2 separate regions of the Homo sapiens genome follow, and region 2 is linked to region 1. Evidence: promoter capture Hi-C in 16 types of primary human blood cells and fetal thymus (Javierre and others, 2016). All regions are on one chromosome and are shown on one strand. The core of a region is centred on a gene start or on the middle of the fragment in contact, and the rest is flanking DNA. Distances in the headings are between cores, read along the strand shown.

Region 1 (3,726 bases), core at 1,013-3,512:
ACCATTCATTCAGTCAGCAAATATGTATCGCACACCCTACACTGCAAGAGAAAATCAGAGAAATGGAAAAATTCTTCATCACCTTAATATTTTACAGGGAAGAACAAATGTGTTTTACATGTTCTTTAAATCCCATGTTTAATAAATAGGTCATTGAAAGTTATATAGTATTTATCTGGAACTGATGTTAAAAAAAATAGAGAGCCAAAAATTATAGTAGTCATCTTGTCTCTGTAAAATGTAATTAAATAAATATGTCATGTACACTGTATATACATAAGCAAACATGCAAATAAAAAAGCAGCCTACTCAAAGGTTACAATAATGTTGCAACAATTCTGGTAGTAACCTTGGGATTTAGGGACACAGTGCTTTCAAAACGTTTCTCTGATACACTGCCAGTAGCATCTCTGACTGCTTATTTAAATGTCAATCAGTAGGCTAGGTGTTCTAGGACTTTGGTCTCAACCCTGTTTCCTGAGTCAGAATCTACATTTTGTAAAAGTTCCCCTGGGAATTCTGATGGTCTGCCAACTTTGGGAGACACTGATAATATTGTAGATAAAGAAGTGTAAGCAACTGTTCAGTTAGGGAGACAATAGATACCTGCATGGAATAACAAAAGGTAATTAACATGATTATATAATTTGAATAGTGTTGTAATAGTTCATAAAATGGAAAAGCCAATTTGAGCCCAGAATCTGGGAGATAGGCAGAACTCTGGACTGTAAAGAATGGCCCAGCAAAGAGGAAGAAAATGGGCATTCTAAGTTGGTGCAATAATATCAGCACAGGAGAAAAGACAGAATATTGGGGGGAGTGGGGAGGGAGGAAGAGGCTGTTGATGAGCCTGATATCATTAACAGAGACCTCATGTGAGGTGCCAGATTACAATTTATTGAATGTACTGAATGCATAAAGCATAAGACAGAAACCTGGAGCCATGCAGATACAGGGAACCCAGGACAAGTCATTATGATGCCTCAGACAATATAATTCGCAGATTCTCTATCAATAGCAAAGTAAGATTTAAGGTGCTGTGAAACAGTCAGATCCTTCAAGAAAAACAAGAATACAAGGGGTCCTGGAGACAGGAAAATATGATCATAATAATAAATTTGTGATTCCTTCTTTCTCTCTTTTTCTCTTTCTTTCTTTTTCTTTCTTTCTTTTTTTTTTTTGATGGAGTTTTGCTCTCGTTGCCCAGGCTGGAGTAAAATGGCATGATATCAGCTCACTGCAAACTCCACCTTCCAGGTTCAAGCAATTCTCTTGCCTCAATCTCTCGAGTAGGTGGGATTACAGGTGTCCACCACAACGCCCGGCTAATTTTTTATATTTTTAGTAGAGAAGGGTTTCACCATGTTGGCCAGGCTGGTCTTGAACTCCTGACCTCAGGTGATTCACCCGCCTTGGCCTCCCAAAGTACTGGGATTACAGGCGTGAGCCACTGCGCCTAGCCTCTGTGTGTTAAGTGCTGGAACTATAGTTTACAGTAGCATTTTATCCTCCCAACATACCCTATCAGGAAAAATTATTATTGTCATCCTTATTTCACAGATGTCAAAACTGAACAGAGAGGTACAGTAACTTGCCCAAGACAACACAGCTAGTAAGTGAAACTGAAATCTGGACAACTGATTTTTTTCAGCCAAGCTCTTCAAGCCCGCTGCTATGCTGCAGCTTAGCTGGCGACAGGCCCTTATCAAGGCAGAACTGTGCCTTGATAGAGGCCAGGAAGGCGATTCAGAGCAGTAGGCCTTGTCCATGTGTTTGTTCCCTGCTTCTTCACCACTTGAAAATAGTGTTTCAGTGCCCAGTAACAGGGCACAATACTCTTTTCCTCAGATTAAAAGGGGAGCCATCTGCTTAAGGTGGTTGGGTGCCACTGCACTGCACAGAAGGTTCTCCAAGTGTGAGCTTGGACCCAGGCAGGCCTCAGGTCAGTGGTAACGGACGACTGCTTCCGTGGTGTTGGCAGGTGGAAATGGAGGGATACAGCTTTGTCCGGCTCATGAATCCCTGGGCATTGTCCCGCCTGCTAGAGCCTCTGATCTCTGCCCCTTCTTCACCTGCAGTAAAACAGTCACTAGTTTGGTTGCTCTCCCTAATACCTCTGGTCACTGGGAGCTGTGATCTCACCAAACCCCTGCCAGGAAAAGCCCCAGAAAAAGCGGAGGGAGTGAGAGCCAGAGGCTGCTGCTGCCGTTTGCAAGAACTGCAGGGGAGGAGGACGCTGCCACCCACAGCCTCTAGAGCTCATTGCAGCTGGGACAGCCCGGAGTGTGGTTAGCAGCTCGGCAAGCGCTGCCCAGGTCCTGGGGTGGTGGCAGCCAGCGGGAGCAGGAAAGGAAGCATGTTCCCAGGCTGCCCACGCCTCTGGGTCCTGGTGGTCTTGGGCACCAGCTGGGTAGGCTGGGGGAGCCAAGGGACAGAAGCGGCACAGCTAAGGCAGTTCTACGTGGCTGCTCAGGGCATCAGTTGGAGCTACCGACCTGAGCCCACAAACTCAAGGTAACTCAGGTGTGGAGTCCGGGTGGGCTTCTCTAGAGAGGAAAATCTATTTCTTTTAGAGAACATTCCCTTTGCAATGTCATGGCTTTTTTTTTTTTTAACTTCAGGTAAGTAAATATAACTAATAGGAGAGTATACTGAATTAAATAAACTGGGCAAATGCTAATTTTGCATCCAACAATGTAGTTTATCATTCTGAGGGTTTAGAAAGCACCCTATTTGATTGGTTAGATGCTACCTTCTTTTCAAGTTTATTTTCAATACAGTTTTGTTAGTATGTTTGTGTTGGCTTATATATTGGTTAATTCAAAGGCACCAGGCACTTGCTCCCTCATTAGCCCTTCCTGCAAACTCCTGTTCCAGATTTTTAGTTGTATAGTATTTTTATGAGACTCCTAGTTACATATTATTTATTCCATTGTCTACATAGCTTCATCTTCTAAAACTAAAAATGAACACCTTGTGCTTTTTGTCATATAATTTTATTGCTGCCTTATAAATGACTTTCAAAATATCATCAGTTCTTGTATGTTTTTGTACTTTCACCTTTTTTCTGCTTCATATTTGACTTATTTATCCTATTGAATGTGACTCTTCATTTTTTTTTCTCTCTGTTCATCATGTCCTGGGATATGGTTTACCTTGGCTACTTAAAGGCATATGTAACTGAGAGGAGGTTTAATTCAGATAAAATACTATCCTTGAGTTGCAAACTATTTTTTCTAATTGAAATGTTAAAAATAAGACTTCTCAGAAATTAACTAAATCATACAGTCTATTCAATATTTCCAGTTAGTTATTTTTTAAATGGTAAACCTGCTAGTGTGACTCACTTTTTTTCCTTACATCACACTTCATTATGAAAGATGTGTTCCTCTTTTACAATTACAAAACCAAAGTAATCTGCCAAAAAATAATGTAATATTTTGAGATCTTTTAGTGTATAATATTAACCTTTTTAAAACTCTCATTGTAACTGGGTTATTTTGGAGGGTATTACATACCATCTTGGTCTTATAATAAGAAGAGATCCCTCCTTCTCAAAAATAATCATTTTAAATATCGTACTTCAAAGTGATAATCTAGGTCACACCCACACCCTTTGGGAACTGCCGTAAGCTAAAACCCCAAGGAAAATAACAGTCCTTCTAACACTAATCTTGCCTGCTCATGAGTAGAATGCAGACTTGGTTGTTGGCTTTCTTGTAGCAT
Region 2 (3,865 bases), core at 485-2,984, 89 kb before region 1:
TTATGCCTTGCAAATAAGTGTAAAAACATACTAATACAAAACATTTTTACTTATTCCATCAGCCTTCATTACAGTGATAATAGAACGAGTATCAGTGTGGATCTAAACCCTGCAGTTTCAGTGAGCTGCAAGATCATTTCAGCTCTATATTTTCTTCAGAATTCTTCCCTGAAACCCTACACAATTCTTCCCTGAAAAAATAGTTCCAATATGTAATTAGCCTAGCATTACAGGCTAAAGGAAGTTATTTACATCTAGCTTAAATTTGTCTTGCTGCAACATCAGTGTATTTTTCTTCTTCAGGGGAACTGATGTAAACAAATGTGATTGGCTGATTCTTCCACAGAGGAAGAGTCAATATTCTAGTTATAGTTAACCCAAGATTATTTCTTTCTGCCAATACTTGAGTGTTATTAAAAATTTTAATAAAAGCTGGTGGTGGTCCTGAACTATTACTACTGGCAAAGAGTCTGCTTCTCTGGTTAGGGTTTGCATTTCTCTCACCTGTGGTGCTGTTCTAGGCTGTGCCACTTCCTCAGAGCAGGAGAGAGAGAGTGGGGTGGACCAACTGGCAAAATTCCCTGAGGTTACAGGCCACCATTTCCCCTTCCTGCTCTATTGAAATGTAACGACTGAGTCAAACCCTAGCCATCCCCCAGGTTGACCCTTTTGTGTACCAAACTATGACTGTTCACCAGACACTTAAAGATGATGGCCATAAGAAAGTTCTGGGAAAACTTGTGGGCTGGAGTCCTGATTCATGCACCAGGCATCAACAATAGCAGATGCAAACACAGACAGCATTTGCACAACAGGGTATGCTAGTATAAGTGATGATAAGCGTAGCTTTTAGCTTTGTAATGCTGATAAAGAACTTGCCAAGAAAATCATTTTTCCTCAAAGGCAACTTGTTATTGCCAAATATCCTGCTCATCTGATTGGACATTGGTTCCTCTATTGTTCATCAATATGCATACAGTACAACTACTGACATTAACTTGCTTATTCAGAGGCATTTACTTCCCTTCTCCCTCTCTCACTGGGTATTTGTTGTGTTTTAGAAAATGGTGAACTTGGCATTTAAAATGCTTAAACCCAGGTCCCAAGTTTATAGCTGTCTTCTTTCCCGCGGATTTAAAATGAGAATATCACTGCAGATGGTTTCTGCAGCTACTGTTAATCCTAAATTGCTCTTATGGACCTCAAATACATCCAACCTTGAGAGACTCTGATAAAGGGATAATTTGTAATCTATGAACTATAAAGTATACTGTAGGTCCCCTCAGGGTTCCTATACTGCACTGCTCCAGGGACACCATTTATGTTGTATTCTGCATGAATGGTGCCCCTTTTGGGTTATGCAAAGCAGTGGCCTGGATATTATATGTAATACTTATACAAAAATAGCTACTATTTATTGATAAACTTACACAATTGTCTCAAATCCATACATTGCAAGAATGAATCACTATCTCTATTTTATATATGCGAAGCTGGAAATTCAGAAAAGTTCAATAAGTTGTCCCACACACACACCTGCCAAAAAAAAAACGTCAATAACTGAGGATGAGGGAATAAGGTTTTAAAACCTGTTTGACTCCAGAGTTTGAGTTTCCCCCATTATGCCATCAATATTAGACACACTTGCAGTAAATGGGTATTTCTTCACTCATTTAACAGATATTTGTTAAATGCCACTAGTAATAATAGTCAACAACTATTGAATGCACACTGTATACCAGGTTGGGGATGCAATGTGGAACAAAACCAACATGGTCCTTGCATGCATGCGGCTTAGTGGTAGGAAAAACATGAGCCCAATAAGACAACAGCTCGTATATTTGTGTTCAGTATGTGAAGGCATTGTTGTTAAGTGGCCTACATACGTATGCTCATTTAATGCTCACACCAATCCTATGAGGTGGATATTATTTTTATCTCTATTTTACAGATGAAGAAACTAAGGAACAAGAGCAATTTACCTAGTATTGCTCAGCTGGTCAGTGACAGATCTGGGATTAAAATCCAGGGAGGCTAGCTCCAGAGTTCATGCACTTAGCTATTAGCTTACTAACAATGACCATGTAAATCATTATCTCATGACTGCTGTGATAAATGTTATAAAGTAAAGGCAAGATGTTAAAGCATACACATTGTATTTATTTTCATTCAAAGGGCATTAATCTCCTAGTTTTTATTAAAAACTTTATATACATTTATACAAAGAAGTTTAGGATGATATATATGTATATATGTGTGTGTGTCTATATATCAAATCTTTAAGCACTATTATCTCTGGATGGTAGAATTTCAGGTAATATCTGAAAATTTATTTTTAATGATTTTTAAATCAAAATTTTAAAAATAATAACATTGATTTTATCATATAAAATGAATACACGGTTTTCATTTGGAAAAAATGTCCCCACTTGATATAAAAACAAGGTTTTTATTTTAAAAATTATCTTTCAGCGGGTCTGAGGAAAAGAAAAAGCTGATGTCCAAATGAGGAAAAAAAATTACAGTGAATCTTTCCATAAGACTTACCTTTGCAGTGGAACTACATAAAAATTGAGAACTACTCCATAAAATTTCTCAACTAAGCATTGAATAAGAGTTATTTGGCTTCAGAAGATCCATACTGTACTCAAATTTTTGAGTAAAAATTTAACAGCATATCTTGAATATTTAAATAAATATTTGCTTCACTTAAACCAAACAAGACAAACACCAGAAAGGACCTGTTCTTCATGGCAGGCCATGCTATAATGTGGAAAAAACAAAGCCTACAAAACCATTCAGAACTGAGTTTAAATCCTGATGCTTCCAGTTTCTAGTCAAATGGCATGCCCCATGCATTTAATCTCTCCAAGGCTCAATTTCCACATATGTACATACAATGGACGGTTGTTATGAGATTAAAGATCATTGTGAGATTAAACATCATGTGTGTAAGGTACTTGGCTCTTTGCTTAATAAATGTTAATTACTCTAATGAGGTAAATATTTTATTTTAATATGAATGCTCAGATTTATACCACAAAGTAGCTTAACCCCACCCCCCCACCATTAACTTTTAGGTTCAGGGGTACATGCACAGGTTTTCTATATAGGTAAATTGTGTGTCACAGGGGTTTGGTGTGCAAATTATTTCATCACCCAGGTAATAAGCACAGTGTCCTATGGGTACTTTTTGATCCTCACCCTCCTCCCACCCTCTATTCTCAAGTAGGTCCCATGTCTATTGTTCCCTTCTTTGTGTCCATGTGTACTCAATATTTAGCTGTCACTTATAAATGAGAACATGTGGTATTTGGCTTTCTGTTCCTGCATTAATTTGCTTAGGATAATGGCCTCCAACTACATCCATGTTGCTGCAAAGGACATGATGATCTTGTTCATTTTTATGGCTGCATACTATTCTGTGATGTATATGTACCACATTTTTTTTTTTTTAGCTAGTCTACCACTGATGGGCATTTAGACGATTCCATGTCTTTGCTATCGTAAATAGTGCTGTAATGAACATATGCATGCATGCGCCTTTACGGTAAAACAATTTCTATTCCTTTTGGTGTATATCCAATAATGGGATTGCTGGATTGAAAGGCAGTTCGGTTTTACATTCTTTGAGGAATCACCACACTCTCTTCCACAATGGCTGAACTAGTTTACATTCCCACTAGCAGTGCATAAACATTCCCTTTTCTCCACAACCTTCACCAGCATCTGTTATTGTCTGACTTTTTAATAGTAGTCATTCCTACTGGTATTAGATGGTATCTTATTATGCTTTTGATTTGTATTCCTCTAATGATTAGTGATGTTAAACATCTTTTCATATGGTTGTTGGATGTGTGAATGT

The links. The method cuts DNA at HindIII sites, captures the fragments that hold promoters and counts their contacts. A CHiCAGO score of 5 or more calls a contact.
Region 2: a fragment that was not itself captured here is called in contact with the fragment with the promoter of F5 in region 1 in 1 of 17 cell types (neutrophils); the score reaches 7.3 in neutrophils.

Annotation. Positions count from the first base shown.
Region 1 is chr1:169,585,017-169,588,742 of GRCh38, reverse strand. It overlaps F5 (coagulation factor V), which reads left to right and starts at 2,262. Exons shown (of 25, transcript NM_000130.5): 1 at 2,262-2,514. The coding sequence starts at 2,357. RefSeq lists enhancers at 1,787-2,286, 2,287-2,788. The HindIII fragment of the contact is 11,391 bases long and covers 1-3,726 here.
Region 2 is chr1:169,673,016-169,676,880 of GRCh38, reverse strand. All of the region lies in intron 1 of LOC107985745 (a long non-coding RNA gene), which reads right to left. Among named protein-coding and RNA genes, the nearest start is that of SELL, 37 kb to the left of the region's middle. The HindIII fragment of the contact is 7,849 bases long and covers 1-3,865 here.